Regions from separate parts of the Homo sapiens genome. Here region 1 is linked to region 2. Evidence: promoter capture Hi-C in 16 types of primary human blood cells and fetal thymus (Javierre and others, 2016). All regions are on one chromosome and are shown on one strand. The core of a region is centred on a gene start or on the middle of the fragment in contact, and the rest is flanking DNA. Distances in the headings are between cores, read along the strand shown. Region 1 holds the start of NKX1-2 (NK1 homeobox 2). Region 2 holds the start of FAM53B-AS1 (FAM53B antisense RNA 1).

Evidence for each region. The method cuts DNA at HindIII sites, captures the fragments that hold promoters and counts their contacts. A CHiCAGO score of 5 or more calls a contact.
Region 1: the fragment with the promoter of NKX1-2 here is called in contact with the fragment with the promoter of FAM53B-AS1 in region 2 in 6 of 17 cell types (total CD4 T cells, activated CD4 T cells, total B cells and 3 more); the score reaches 6.6 in total CD4 T cells.

What each region holds. Positions count from the first base shown.
Region 1 is chr10:124,445,211-124,452,407 of GRCh38, forward strand. It overlaps NKX1-2 (NK1 homeobox 2), which reads right to left and starts at 4,825. Exons shown (of 2, transcript NM_001146340.3): 1 at 4,520-4,825; 2 at 33-2,937. The coding sequence starts at 4,733. The coding sequence ends at 2,219. RefSeq lists enhancers at 1,510-2,377, 5,694-6,249, 6,250-6,806. The HindIII fragment of the contact is 2,053 bases long and covers 3,927-5,979 here.
Region 2 is chr10:124,698,236-124,705,569 of GRCh38, forward strand. FAM53B-AS1 (FAM53B antisense RNA 1) reads left to right here and starts at 5,793. Exons shown (of 2, transcript NR_120631.1): 1 at 5,793-6,096. The region is part of intron 2 of FAM53B (family with sequence similarity 53 member B); the gene reads right to left. RefSeq lists enhancers at 1,223-1,422, 1,497-2,167, 2,353-2,502, 6,995-7,334. The HindIII fragment of the contact is 3,544 bases long and covers 4,772-7,334 here.

The DNA of each region.
Region 1 (7,197 bases), core at 3,575-6,074, 250 kb before region 2:
CAAGGAATAATGAGACAAGAAATAAAAATAAATTTACTACAAAAAGAATTTATTAGACAAACACACCAATAGATTGAGTCTAAGGATTTGGTTGGAAAGCCACTGGGCCTTTTAAAGCAGCAGAAGTCCAAAGTCACACGCTTCAAGCATTACTCTGCAATGATCTGTGGAAACCAGAAGGGTCAGGAATTACAGCACCGTGCTGGGCCACGAACAGATCAGCCTCCCACCTCTCTCCCTATTCCCTCTCTTCTACTGAAGTCCATGATTCTGGTACCTGAGAAGACTGGAATGAAATGTTTCCCATTTATTACAGAATTCAGCTTCTTTGTTACAGAGGAATTGTCACATTTGAATTGTCTGTTTAATATGGGATATTGCTTTTGAGAAACCAACAAATAGTTATTAAAGGAGTGTTTACCGAAGTGTAAGGTGAATATTATCTAGTAGAGTAACTGCATTTTTAATCTCATCTGGCACCAACTGTCTTTTAGAAAGTTACAATGTGTTGTTTGGGGGACATTCTTCTTTAGAAGGAAAAGAGTCTAATTAGTGGATATTAAGTAATTAAATAATACATACTATCAAATATTATGAGAGTCACATGAACCATGAAGTCTTCACTTAATTTAGGAGAAATGGGGAATATTTTCTATCATTCCTGATAACAGAACTAGATATTTCAAGATCATAGTCATGGAATGTAATCCATAATACCAAACAGGGTGCTTTACTTTGAAGCCATTGACCATTAAATTTGATTGTTAGTAGCACAGGCTACCAAAAAATAGCAAGGAATATGGTATCCACACAGATCTCGGCTGGCCTCAAGTAATCAAAAGTGAGAATGAAACATACATGACACAACTGGGGACCTCTGGGTTTCTGAGACGTGGGCTACAAGATTATATTAGGTAGAAAACTAAAGGAAATGTATTCCAAGCAAAAGTGGCAAGGGAATTTCACAGAACTAATTTTTTAAGGGAGGTAATAAAAGCAGCAGTTAAAATGCATGTCCATGTATCAGATTCCTGGAGGTGAATCCATTAGGAATATGACGGCTCTTCACACCCAAGTATTGCTTTCATGGGCCCTTACAATCTCTGCTTGTTCACCACCATAAAGAGTCTGTTTGTAACAAGAATTGTTTTCAAGTCAGAATCCTAGACGAAGATCTAAAAATGTTGAGTTTGTGCTTTTAAAAAACAGTCCAGTCCAACTGTCCACATGTAGTGTGTGCTGATGGAGCTAGCTCTTCCCCATCCTGGCTCACTATTGGGAGCCCAGGAATCCCTGGGACAGGCAGATAAGCCAGGACTGAAGTTTTAAAGTATCAACTACTGCAAATCAAAGTAGGCAGCCTCATGCATAGACTTCATGATATTAGTTGAGCCATCGCTGCCTTCATTATCATTTTTATGCCTTTGGGGTCACTGTGTGGTTTGGTCCAGGCTGTTCTCAAAACCTGCAGTGCAACAGACCCGTGTCTACTTTAGCAGGTGAGTCTAGCTGCAAATCAGTCACCTTTCCTACCACAAACTTCTGGCCTACTCCAAAAACCAAGGTACCCCCTCTCTCAGGAATAGCCTGGGGAGGTTATTTGGAACAAGTATTGTGTTCCAGTCCGAATCTTAAGTAAAGATCTAGAAATGTGGAGTTTTATGCATTTTAAAAATAGTCCGTTTCAGAGCGGCCGTCTGTGCTCCAGGACCAAGCTCTCCCCAGCCTCGTTCAGGATTTGGAAGAACTCTCTGGGTTTGGGCTGAACCATCGAGCACGAGGAGGGGAAGCTGTCAGTTGTGAACAGAGACTGTTTCTCACCCTCTGATGAGCCAGCACCTTTAAAGGTTCCATCCTAGCCGCCAGCAGCTGGCAGCCAGGGCGTCTCTGCTCCCTGTATTTCCCTCCTGGCATCTTGGTTAGCCCCGCGCCGAACACCCAGACCCTCAAAAACTAGCCCCTGAACTGAATTAAACCTGACCCAAAGTGAACAGCAAGGTCCAGAAACGGCAAGGCTTGAGGTCAGCCTCCGTCCCCGGACACTTTGAAGGACGGCAGATCCCTGACCCCTTGGTGGCCCGCGAGGATCGCGGGTGCGCGCGGCGGGCAGGGGTGCGCTGACACCCGCGCACCTGCACCCCCGGTGGAGGAGCCGAGGGCACACGACGATGCCAATCCCTCGTGAATCCCGCGAAAGAGGGGCCAGGGGGCTCCGGATTCATAGACGCGGGGCGTAGAAGGGGGTCAGGTAGGAAGGCCCAAGGAACGGCGCGAAAGGGCTCCCGGGGGCGGCAGCCGTCAGCGGGAAGGAGGCGGCGGACGGGAAGAGGACATTGGCCGCGGAGTAGGAGGGGAAAGTCTGGAAGTGCAGAGCGCCGGTGCCGGGAGGGCCAGGACTGCCCCCCGAGCCGCCGCCGCCGCCGCCCCCCGCCGCCCCTGGCTGGGGCGCGCCACCCCCCACCTGCGCCGCGCCGTCGGCACCCGGGTTCTGCTTCTTCCACTTGGTCCTGCGATTCTGGAACCAGATTTTGACCTGCGTCTCGGTGAGGCTGAGAGACAGCGCGAGGTTCAGGCGCTCGCACACTGACAGGTAGCGCGTGGCCCGGAACTTGTTCTCCAAGGCCACCAGCTGCTCGTAGGTGAAGGCGGTGCGCGCGCGCCGCGGCTTGGCGCAGTTGGGCTCCAGGCGCCGGCGCCTGGGACGCGGGGAGCCGGGGGATCCCGGGGGGGACCTCACAGGGCCGCCCCCGCCGTCCTCGCAGGGCTCCCCAGACGCCAATGCCCCGGCCGGGGCGTCAGGTGAGCGCGCTAGGCCCGGCAGCAAGCGCGCAGCCCGCTCCCGCAGCCGCGGCCTCCTCGGATCCTCCGCATCCTCCTCCTCTTCCGCCTCGGAACCCTCCAGGGGGGACGCCTGGCCGGCGCCTGGGCCCGCAGCATCTAGGGGAGAAGGGGTCGGTGAACAGAAGCCTCTCCAGGTCCCCAAACCTCGTCCTCGTCCTCCCTAGAGCAAGCAGCTGTCCCCCCAACCCAACTCTGGGTGCTGCTCCTGTCCCCACATCGCGCTCCCCTTAGGCCGGACTACACATCCTCGCCAGCGGGTTTAGGGGAATGGTGTCCTCTTGCCCTTTACAAATCTGCCATCAAGTAGGCGTCCAAGAAATGTACGCCAAATGAATGAATGACACCCCGCATTAAGAAAAAATAGTGACATTATTGGGTAACCATACTGGGGGGTAGGATCATTGTATTAAGACATCTAGATGTCAAACGCTTTTAGGGCTGTGCCTTCCCCAGACCCTAGAAGCCTATTTTGATCTAGGACTCCCAGCAATTAAAAAAGAAGTTATTAAGCTCTCTGCCCCACCCCACCCCCGCCCCCGCTTTAAAGTGAAATTCCCTTTCCCATCTTCTCTCTCCCGCCGTGTTAATAGAGTTTCAGATTTGTGCGGGGCCGGATCGATAGATGTCATCTATTAAAGGTAAGTTTTAATCGAACAATATTAGGATCAGACAGGGAAAGGGGGTTTGAAGTCGGTACCTGCAAGCTGCGGGCAGGAGATATGCAGGCGCCAGTAATAGAATATCGATCACGAGGGTGGGGGAAGGGAGGGCGGCCCCTCGGAGAGAAGATCCGAACAATTACCAGGCCGCCTGCCTGGGCCCAAGTGCGGCCGCCAGAGGCGCCCCGGGCCCCAGGCAATCACCGCCAAACTTGGGGAGGGGAGCAGGGGGCTGCGCGGCATCCAGCCTCCCCCGATGACCTGAGCCTCTGACCCTCCAGGGAGCCGCCTTTCCCTGTCTGATCCCAGCAGGACTCCTGCTGTCTTCCGTCCTTCCTTCCAGCCACAAACTTTCCTAACCCCTTCATCAGGTGTCCGCCAGCGTTGGGAGTAATTCAGAAAGGGTTTCGAGAAGAAAGTACCGAAAGCTTCCCAACACTCCATCCGAGCCCCGCCCCCAGCCCAGTCCCAGTTAACAGTTGAGTCTGGGGAGCTTGAGCGCCTGGGGCAGCCCAGCCCCGCAGGCGTCTCCGGGTGGCACCTGACCTCGCTACTCACGAAGACCCCCGGCGCAAGCCTTAGCGTCAGCTCCCCCATCCATAAAATGGAGGTGATGTTAATGATGCTGTCCATCTCTCAGGTTCCGAAGTTTTCATCACCTTTATCCCAGCCCTTAGCCCAGGTCCTAGCACGTGGCAAGCGCATTAAATGCCCGATAAATGAGTAAGCCTGGCAAGACAGGCGCCAGGTAAGTTTCCACCGCGAGCATCAGAACTGTGGTGCGGGTGAGCTTGGCGGGTGAGCAGGGATGCGGCAAATCCCTGCCCTGTAATGCGGGGAGCCTCCTCTCTGCCTCTATCCAAGTCCGAGGCGGGGGCTACACTTCGCACCCGGTCCCGTGCGCCTTCTCTCTGAGGAAGACGCTGTTAAGGGCCACTCACCGGGCCCGGCTGTTCCCCCATACACTCCGCATTGTTGGGGCTGAGGCCTCCTGGGGCCGGGGCCGCCTTGCATCTTACCAGGGGTCTCCAGCTGTCGGACAGGGTCCCTGGAGCTGGCATCTTTCCCCGCTTCGACCTCCGCCAAACTTTTCCTGGCTTCCCGGGGAGCCGGGCGCACGGCAGGGAGCGCTGCGCGGGTGAATTTCTGTGGGTCCAGGATGTCCAGGACAGAGAAAGAAATCTTGTGGTGGGAGGGAGCCGCCTTGGCCCCGCCGTCCTGCCATGCCAGCATGCCCGTCGCCCACGGGCCGGCGGTCGGCGGCGCGGGGTTGGGGATGGCGCCGCTCGGGCTTGCCTTCGGCTGTGGCTTGGCGGTAGCTTTCCAGCCAGGAGCCGGGTCCGCGCTGCCAAGTGAAGCTGGGGAGGGGGGCGGGGAGGCGGGGCGGGGAGAGCGCCGCGGGGGGCTGCGCGCCGATTGGCACCGGCGCAGCCCGGGCCAGCCTCGGGACTATCAGGCGCTGTGCCGCGGCCGCTTGCCTGGGCTCGGGGAAGCCTCCGCGCGCCCGGTGCGCGCGACCGCGGGGACAGTGTTGTCGTCTCCGCGCGCCTCCGCCCAACCCTCTGGGACTCTCCGAGGGCGCGAGGGAGGCTTCCATCCCGGGGATCCCTCACCCCGACACACACACCTCTGTGACTTGAGTTTGTTCCCTTTCTCCGGTGCACCCGCCTTAGACTTGGGGATGCAACTGAGGCCAGGACTGCTTACTCCCAGGCAATGCTCAGCGCATCTCCTTCCCCGCCAGTGAATTACTGTAATAGCTTCAGACCCGGTTACCTCGGAGGTAAAATCCCTCACGTTCTCACAGTTTAGCGTTCACAAAGCCCTGAGGCTTGCACGATCTCTTTTGATTATTTGAGCATCCCTGTGAGATGGGCGTCACGTGGCACAGACCACTGTCCCCGTTTTAAAGATGAGGAAATCGAGGTTCAAAGGTAAGAAAAGATTTCCCCAGGGTCACTGTGAGTTGGTGACAGAGTCTGGGTTTGGACCTCGGTCTTCTACTGGACCAGTCAGTGCTTTTTTAGTACATCCTGCTGTCTCAGAAACGGAGGGAGAAAATCCCGGACTCTCAGTCTTTTGCTTCCACTCCAAAGCCAAGCCAGAGGCCAGCAAGAGGTTTGGAGAGGTGGTGAGCCCCCACCGGGATTCCAGCCGCTTTGGAAACCTTGGTGGCTTCAGGCACAGAGCCAAGTGAGATGGCTGAGGGTGTCTGCCCTGGTTTGCTGTGACCCGGAGCACAGCCCTCAATGGACAAACGTCAGGCCTTCTCCAGAGTCACAAATTCGATCATTTGCAACAGAAATTGGATCTGAGAATTAGGTTGCATCTCTGACCCCCATTCCCTCTCAGCCCCAGAAGCAGAAGATTCAGAAATGCCTGTCTGGTTTGAATTTAAGGTCCGAGAAGAGAGACAGTTGAAATGGCCCTCATCTGCCCCACCAAGTCCCCTGGGAAAGTGATCACCAGTGGTCGGAGAAGCTTCCACTGGCCACACCAATCCTGAATTTCTTCTTTTGTCTCTTGGAAAGCACACAGCAGTCTGTGAGCACTAAGCATTTGTTTCAGGCAAATTCTGAGGCTTCTCCTAGTGTTTGGCCCAGAACCACCTCTGACTCTGCCGTTCCTTTCTTCTCCGCCCCATAGGGTTTCCAAACAATGACTTGGCAATTAATATTGTCTGAGCAGGTAAGGAGTAGGAAGAGGAGGAGAAACCTTCTCATTAAAGTGCTGGGGGCTGCTAATCCCATCTGTTATTGAAGAGGCATCCTTAGAAGCCAGCTCCTTGTAGCTTTTCTCATTCAAACCTTGCTGCCCCTCCCAGAGGTGGTCACTGTATTCCCTGCGGACTTTAAAGCCTGCGGAAATCAAGCCAGCTCCAGTCCTAAAGTGAAGACGGATTGTGCTTTTAAAGCTCAGGAAAGGAAGTGCCCTTCCCAAGTCCACTGGACCACCTCCCATCGAAGGGAATGTGAAAATCCCAAAGAAAAGATGGCCCTGAAACTAAAAAGTGGCGCCCGACAACCTGGACTGCAAATCACAGAGCCTTCCTGAAATACAGATGGGGTACTTTGTTTTCTGTTTTGATAATGCTTTCTCACCCAGTTCTCGATTTTTTTTTCTAATCTTCCTTTTTGTTTCTCCCCCTTCACCCTTTTGATCCTAGCCGCCCCTTCTACATTTTCCCACCATGTTTACTTTTTTTTTTTTTGAGACAGAGTCTCTCTGTCACCCAGGCTGGAGTGCAGTGGCGCGATCTTGGCTCACTGTGCAACCTCTGCCTCCTGGGTTCAAGCAATTCTCCTGCCTCAGCCTCCCAAGTAGCTGGGATTATAGGTGCGCGCCACTGTGCCCGGCTAATTTTTGTATTATTAGTAGATACAGGTTTTCACCATGTTGGCCAGGCTGGTCTCAAACTCATGATCTCAAGTGATCCGCCCACCTTGGGTTCTCAAAGTGCTGAGATTACAGGCATGAGCCATCGTGCCTGGCCCATGTTTATATTTTTAAATGCTGAGGTTCTCAGGATAGCTAGGAATAGGTTTCCTTAAGTTAGCCCCAGATGGAAGTATGTGGCCTCCCACTGTCCCTCTTATTCATTCTCCTATGAGAAACCTTGAGACTCTTTATTTTCACAGGATGGTGGGCATTCCAGGGGCCACCCTATACCCCAAACCAGAGGGACAAGGGAGGCCCA
Region 2 (7,334 bases), core at 4,543-7,042:
GAGGCCAGAGAGGCCACACCAGGATGGGGGCTGGGGAGAGCAGAATTGAACAGGAACACTGAAGCACCCCGCGTGCTTCACTGGCATGCATGCAGGAGGGCTTGGGGCTTTCCACACCAAAGCAGGAAGCCACGTAGTGAGCCGCCCCTGCCTGGCCAGCAGAACAGTGCTTGCTGGCCGCCTCTCACCAAGCTGGCATGTTCTAGACCAAGGGGGACCTCAGGGCCCTCCTGACCCAGGCCTTCGCAAGGAACACTGCCAGAGATGCTGGGGTCTGTCTGCCCACAGAGGCAGCACTGGGCCAGCACACAGAGCACCCCAGGCACTCGTTCATACATTCACTCAACTTGCTCATTCATTCATTCAATGAGGACTTATCAGCATCTGCAGCAGGTCCCCAGAGTGGCCTGCCATTTCTAACCTGGAAAACTGACTCCTCACCACCCCACCATTGGCCCTGATCCCAGCCACTGCCAGCCCCAGTGAACGCCCCTCCTAACCGCTCTTACAGCCTGTACCCTCGGCCCCCATTCCCCACCCTCCATCCAGAACCCAGAGCCATCTTCTTAAAGCAGAGATCAGACCACGTCATTCTGTTCCAACAACTTCCCACCACAACCAGAATCAAATCCCGGCCACTACCTCTCCTCCACAGCCTACAGGGCCCCATATGAGCCAACCTGAGTACCCCCAACCTTGCTCTGGCCCTCCCCTCCTCACTCACACCACCCAGTGGGGCCAGGCCAGTCACTACCATCTCAGGGGCTTTGTGCCGGGATCTTCACGCAGCAGGCTTTGCACTGTTCCTGCCCTGTGGCCTCCTCAGTGGCCTTGCCGGACCATCCTGGCTAAAGCGGTGCCTCCCACCTGCTTTTCTCTCTCCCATCGCCTCATTTAATGAACATGGCAGGTATCAGAACATCTGTTCCTGTACTGATTCTCTGCTCCATGGGAACGGAAGCTTCTTGAGAAAGGAGGGCTGTCTTGGTTCCAACATCCCAGCTGACAGCAGGCACCATGGCTACAGCCACCTGTCAGCGCCAGCCTGTCCCACTCCTGCAGCCACACACCCAGTGGATGTCAGGCAACGGAAGTGGATTTTCACTGGGCAGAAGTCACTGTCTCCCAAAATCGCTGGCCTCACGCAAAGTCAAACCTCAGTGGGGAAGGGCTGAGAGGCCAGCCTGAGTGTCAGAGCCGCCCTGCAGGCTAGCCTGGCCTCCTCATGCCGGTCTCCAACACTCTACCTAAGGGTTCCCATGAACCAGCAATGGTGCACACTATGATTTTCTAACTCGAAAGAACGACTTCTCCATTTCCCCACCCCGGGCAAGCCACTGCTTGCTCCTCACTGAACAGATGAAACCGCGCAGCCCAGTGGTGCGGCCCCCTTCTTCTGTCAGCAGCACCCCAATTCTGAATTGGGATACCTTCATCGTCACTGGATCATGTCTTAGTGGGACTGTCAACCAAGGTGCCTCCACCTCCCCTGGCCCCAGGCTAGGCCCAGAACTCAAGCCTGGCTGACCAGACACTGGTTCCATGGCTGACTCCTGAACCACAGAGCTGGGGCTGATCCGCCCAGGAAGGAGGCCCTCAGCCTGCCCGTGAGCACCTGCTTCTAAAGTCCTCCCAGCTGCTCCCACCCTGCCCTTTCTGAGGCCCGACTGGCCCCCTCCTCTCCAGCCCTGCGAGCTCGCCCTGTGCTTCAGGGAGTTCTCTTTCGGGGTGAGTTAGCTGGAGATGGCCTCTGGTGCTGACAAAGGAGGAACCCTGACTGATTTCGTGCTTGACCTCAAGACCAGATCACGGCCCATCTTGCTTTCTGAGCCCCATCCGTGAGGCTAAGCCAGTGGCGGCCAGGCCAGAATGTCATGTACTGACAGCTTTCCAGGGTGCCAGGCCCCAGTGTACCCTGACCGCTGGCAGGTTTCCCTGGTCCAACTCCACATGGGCAAACCAGCAGAGTTCCTGCTTGGCTCTAGGTTGGCCAGGGCCTTTTTTTCCCCAGGCTTCCCAGTATATGCTAACATTCCCACTGGTATTTACCATTCCTATACACACGGCCTTTCCAACACTTTGAACCTCCTGCACCCACAGTGGGAAGAATGAGCCAATCACGGTGTGGAGGCCCCACCAGGCCGAGGGAACCCCTCGGCCCTCTGAGGTTTCACAAGACACTCAGTGTCTGCACTCTGCGAGCACCCGAGCCCTAGCTGAGGTCTGCAGTGAAATAAGACCAGAGCACATTTCCCCTTTGTGCTTCTCCCACCGTGAAGCCTCTGTTCCCGAGCCCACGCCGGGGCAGGGCCTCGTCTCTGTGAGACTCCTCAGATCACGAGAGAAGGTTTTTGGAATTAGATCCTCGTAGGAAAGGCAAAAGCTGGAAATCAAATGGAGGCTTCAGGGCCATCTGTCTGACTAAAGAAAGCAGCCCTGGCTTAAATAAAGACACAATTAAGGCTCCAAATGAGGAACTGGCCCTGCAGAAAATGCCAGGCCACAACCACGGTTCTTGGTAACTTTGCTCTGCACATTATCCACTAAAGAAATCAAATCACCTTTTCCATCTCCTGACACGGTGTTACAGGGAGCCACAGAGCAACAGGGGGAGGCTCGCGCTCATGCCCTGCGGGGGAACGAGTGGAGCACCCACACTTCCGAAATGCAACCCCGCGAGACCGTGGCAGTCGAAAGCAAAAAGGAGATCCAGGCCTGAGACAAGAAAGAGAAGCTGAGGAGGGAACAGCACCTTTGTGTGAAGACTCTCAAAGATGCGGATAGAGATACGCTGGCCCTGACTCCTGAGGCTCTGGGATTAGCCAAAGCATGGGCAGGCCCCTTGGTATCTCTGCCTGCCCAGGGTGAAAGGCATCAGGCTGCCCTGGACCCTGTGCACTCCCACATTCTAACTTCAGGCCAGCCTGGGGCCTGCCAGAGATCCTGGCTGGGGCTGTTGAGCTCAAAGTGCCAACTTAGCATGGCCCGAAGTATGAAGAACCCCAGTGCCCAGGCAACTGGGTGCAAGGCCTGACATGGCCACTAACTCCTCAGGTAAGAAAAGTCATTTAGCCTTGGCATCCTAATCTGACAAGTACAGAAGGAAGTGCTTGTTCTAGCTACCAGATCAGCCCCTCCAAAGGACAAGTATTGGTTGTTACGTGGAAAGTCAGGCAGCCTGGAGCTCCATGCTGCCCTCTGCCCAGGAGCAGCCAGCCACCAGCTCCCTTTGGTCTTCAGCCTTAAGGGAGGATGGGCTGCAGAAAGAAGAGCGGGCCTGGCCAAGGGAGGTGGTCACTCTGGAAACAAAAGAACAGGCCCTTGGCCTGAGTGTGGGCGTGCGGGAAGGAGCTGAGGGAGCACAGTGCTCCAAGGTCAAACGTCTGGGCTGCCTTCCAGGGGAGCAGCTAATGTTAGAACACTGGAAGGAAGAGCCCACTCAGCAGAGGAAGGCACTGGCCAGAGTGGGGGAAAGGGGAACTGGACCCAGCCATGGCTGCCGGCAGTGCAAGCGAAGCCAGGGCCATGGGCACAGCTGAGCCTCAGGGCCATCTCCCCCCAGGCAGGTGGGCCCTGTGCTGGGAAAGGCAAAATGCTGAGCACTGGTCAGTCCTTTTTTTCCCTTTTTCCCACATCTTTCTTTGAGGGAAAGACAGTTGTTTCACCAGCATTTAGTTTTTTAAAACAGGGGAACCAGAACCATGGCATGAACCCCTAAGAAGGCTGGGAGGGAGACCGAGTCCTCACACCCCTCAACAGGCCTCAGAATTGGCCACGAGCTCCTCCTCCAGTGCCACATGACACCCAGGGTTGCGAGGACCCTGGTGACTTTCCCTTGCACATTGAGACTTTCCCGCTCTGTGACTAAGGCCTGACTCTGGGGACCCAGGGTGAGCTGCGCCTCTGGGGCCTGCTCCCATAATTCCAAAGTGGCCTATGCTGATACCAGTCCCGGCCTCCCCCACAGTCATGCTTTCCTTTAAAATCTTAAACCTCCACTTGTTATCTTCTTAGTCTGATTAGAAAACAAAAGAAAAATTATTTTCCATCGTTCCTGTTGTTATCTTGATGGTATTTACACGGGGATGATGTTACCAGTTTAGGAAGCTAAAGCAAAACCCCGTCAACTTCCTCTGAACCTTTGCTGGCTGTTCAAAGCAAATGCTAGCATCAGCTTATCTCACATTCTGTCCCGTGGATGTCATCACTAGACTAAGATTATTTTCAGTATTTCTTCAGTTATTTACATCGTGTGTCTCTCCCCAAGGCCTGGAGGGGCTCCAAGGCGATCACAGCCTCTGGAACAGGGCCCATGCGAGAAGGTGCTGGGGGAAGCAGACAAGGGCCTGGACTTGAAATCTGTGACCAGGGCAGCCCCTCCCTGGGCTCTCTGAGCCACAGTTTCCTTCCTGTATAATGGGGTAGAAATGGGTGCACCCCTGCCCCTCAGCAGGTGGCATGAGGCTCAAGGACAGGGAGGAGGTACCTGGACCTCTGGGCATACAGTTTGGATGTTCGTCCCCTCCAAATCTCATGTTGAAATGTAACCCCCAATGCTGGAGGCGGGGCCTGGTGGGGGGTGTTTGGGTCATGGGAGCGGATCCCTCATGAATGGCTTGGTGGCCTCCCCATGGTGATCAGGGAGTCCTCGCTCTTCTAGTTCATGTGAGGGCTGGTAGTTTAACAGGTCTGGCACCTCCTCCCTTCCCTCTTGCTCCCTCTCTCACCTCGTGACACACTTATTCTCCCCTCACCTTCTGCCATGACTGGAAGCTTCGTGAGGCCTTACTAGAAACAGATGCAGGTGCCATACTTTTTTTTTTGGAGACACAGTCTCACTCTGTCGCCCAGGCTGGAGTGCGGTAGTGCTGTGATATCGGCTCACTGCAAGCTCCGCCTCCCAGGTTCGAGCCATTCTCCTGCCTCAGCCTCCCAAGTAGCTGGGACTACAGGCGCCCGCCTGCCACCACACTCAGCTAATTTTTTGTATTTTTAGCAGAGACGGGGCTTCACCATATTAGCCAGGATGGTCTTGATCTCCTGACCTCGTGATCCGCCCTCTTCAGCCTCCCAAAGTGCTGGGATTACCGGCGTGAGCCACCATGCCTGGCCGGTGCCATACTTCTTATACAGCCTGCAGAACCATAAGCCAAGTAAATCTCTTTTCTTTATAAATTACCCAGCCTCAGGTATTCCTCATAGCAACATGATATGAACTAACACACTTCCCAAGACCCTCAGTGTAGCTGCACCTCCAACACCTTCCTGCTGGCCCACGCTATAGCGCAGGCAGCGCTGAGCCAGGCCGGGCCAGGCACTGACGCCCAGTCAATGTGTTCTGGGCGCATAAGCAAACTGAGCAATGAGAAAGCCCATCTCCAACAGGGCTGCTCCCCACAACAGACCTCTCATCTGGAGCCAAGGGGAGAGAAGAGGAGGAGGAAGACCACAGATGGACCCAAAGCACTGCACACTGGGTGGTTCTGGGCCCGGACAGGCCAGTAACAAAAAGCAGCAGAAAGAAGGATACTTTCCAACAAAGCAAGGAGAGTTCAGGAAGAAAGCACAGATTCTAATCTGTGTGGCCACAAGAGAACACATGGTAGAATCCCTTCCAGCAAAGCCGCCTGCTCTCCCCTGACTGCTTTCCCTTTCTGAGATGAGTTTTCCTTCCCTGGCCAGGGCTGGGAGGCCGTGCTCCTCCTGGCAGGGGCTCAGGCCACACCTCTTGGAAGAGCAGCTCAGCTGACCTTGGGCCCACATGTCCTGGAACCAACTCTGAAGCCAACACCAGGCAGTCCCACCCTGAGAAGGGACCAAGCACAGAGGCGGCCACTGCAGCCAACTGCACAGCTGGACCCGGGTAGGGCTCCTCCCTCGGGACCTCCAGATGGCTCCTCACCCTTGAGGTCCCTTCTTTTTGGTCAGAGCTACTCTAGTCGCACCCACTCAGTCGTGAACTGGAGCAGCAGCCAGAGAGAGAGTAAGACAATGGTGAATGAGAAGAGGCCAGGTGACAGGAACCTGCAAGCTCATCCATCCACAAACATCCACTGAGCACCTGCCACGGGCTGGGCCCCGTGCATTCAACAACAAGTAAGAGAGACATCCTCTGCTTTCTCAAAGCTCCCATTCTAGTATAAGGACTCGGTCAAGATCCACAGGGACATGTTTAAAAGTGCTAAGTGCCCAAGAGGGAAAAAGGAAAAGAGGAGAGAAAGTGTGGTGGGGGTAAGGGGTGGGCGCTGGCGCTGGGACTGAACTGTAGGTTGAGTAGCCAGAGAAGGAAGGAGGGAGGGAGTATGTCCTACTGTGGGGAGAGGGCTCCAGGCCAAGGAAAAAGTGCAAAGGCCTGAGGCAGGCTCACGCTTGGCATATTGGAATAGGGAGGCCAGTGGGGACCGAGCAGAGGGGGCAGAGTGGCAGAGATGAGGTCAAAGCAGTCACATGGACAAGAATATATGGGGCCATGTACATCCTAGTAAGGGCTGGGTGTTTGCTAAGCATTCAGTGTAAAGCCAGTGGAAGCTGCTACACAGAGAAGGACAGCTCTGACTGGGATTCTCTCTGGCTGCTGGGTGGAGAACAGGTTAAAAAGAGCCAGAGGCAGGGGACCAGTTACCACAAGAATCCTTGCGAGAGAACAGCAGGTGGAACCAGGGTGGTGGCAGCGGGGCTGGTGAGAAGTAATCACATCACACAGCAAATGTGAACTGGAAAGGATGGGGTGGTAGCAGAAGAGCTGAATGGTCACAGCAGCTCTACTCCTCGCTGCAGTGACCAAGGCTGCCATCGAGCAAACACACCTCAGGTGCCTGCTGTCTGCCCTGCCTCAGTAGTGCTGGGGACATGGGGAGGAGCAAAGCTGAGTCCCTATCCTTGCAGCTGGGGGTGACACCCCATGGAGACCTCACAGGCTGAGGCCCATGAGCAGAGTGGCACCAGTGTCACATCTGGTAAGGGCTGAAGAGACCTGACTGAGGGAGGGCCACCAAGACTGGCGTCCAGACACCAGGCAACAGGCAGAGGCCTGAATGCAGGCCCAGGAAGTGGGGCTAGAGGGGCAGGAGGGAAGGCGGAGGCGGAGCCAGTGAGGCAGTTACTGCCTGCTCCAGGTTGCAGCTGCCTCATTTGTAAAACAAGGAGGCTGGACCCAACGGTTTCTAAGCCACTTCTTCTCACCCTTCAAGGCCAAATCAAGTATCCCTGCTCCGCAAGGCTTTCCCTGGCGTGCTACAGCCAGGCTGGCCCTGCTCCTCTACAAGCCCTGGGCTTCCCATGGGCTTCAGCTGCGAGTTCTTAGTCATGGGATCCTCAAGTGTCACTGTATTCAC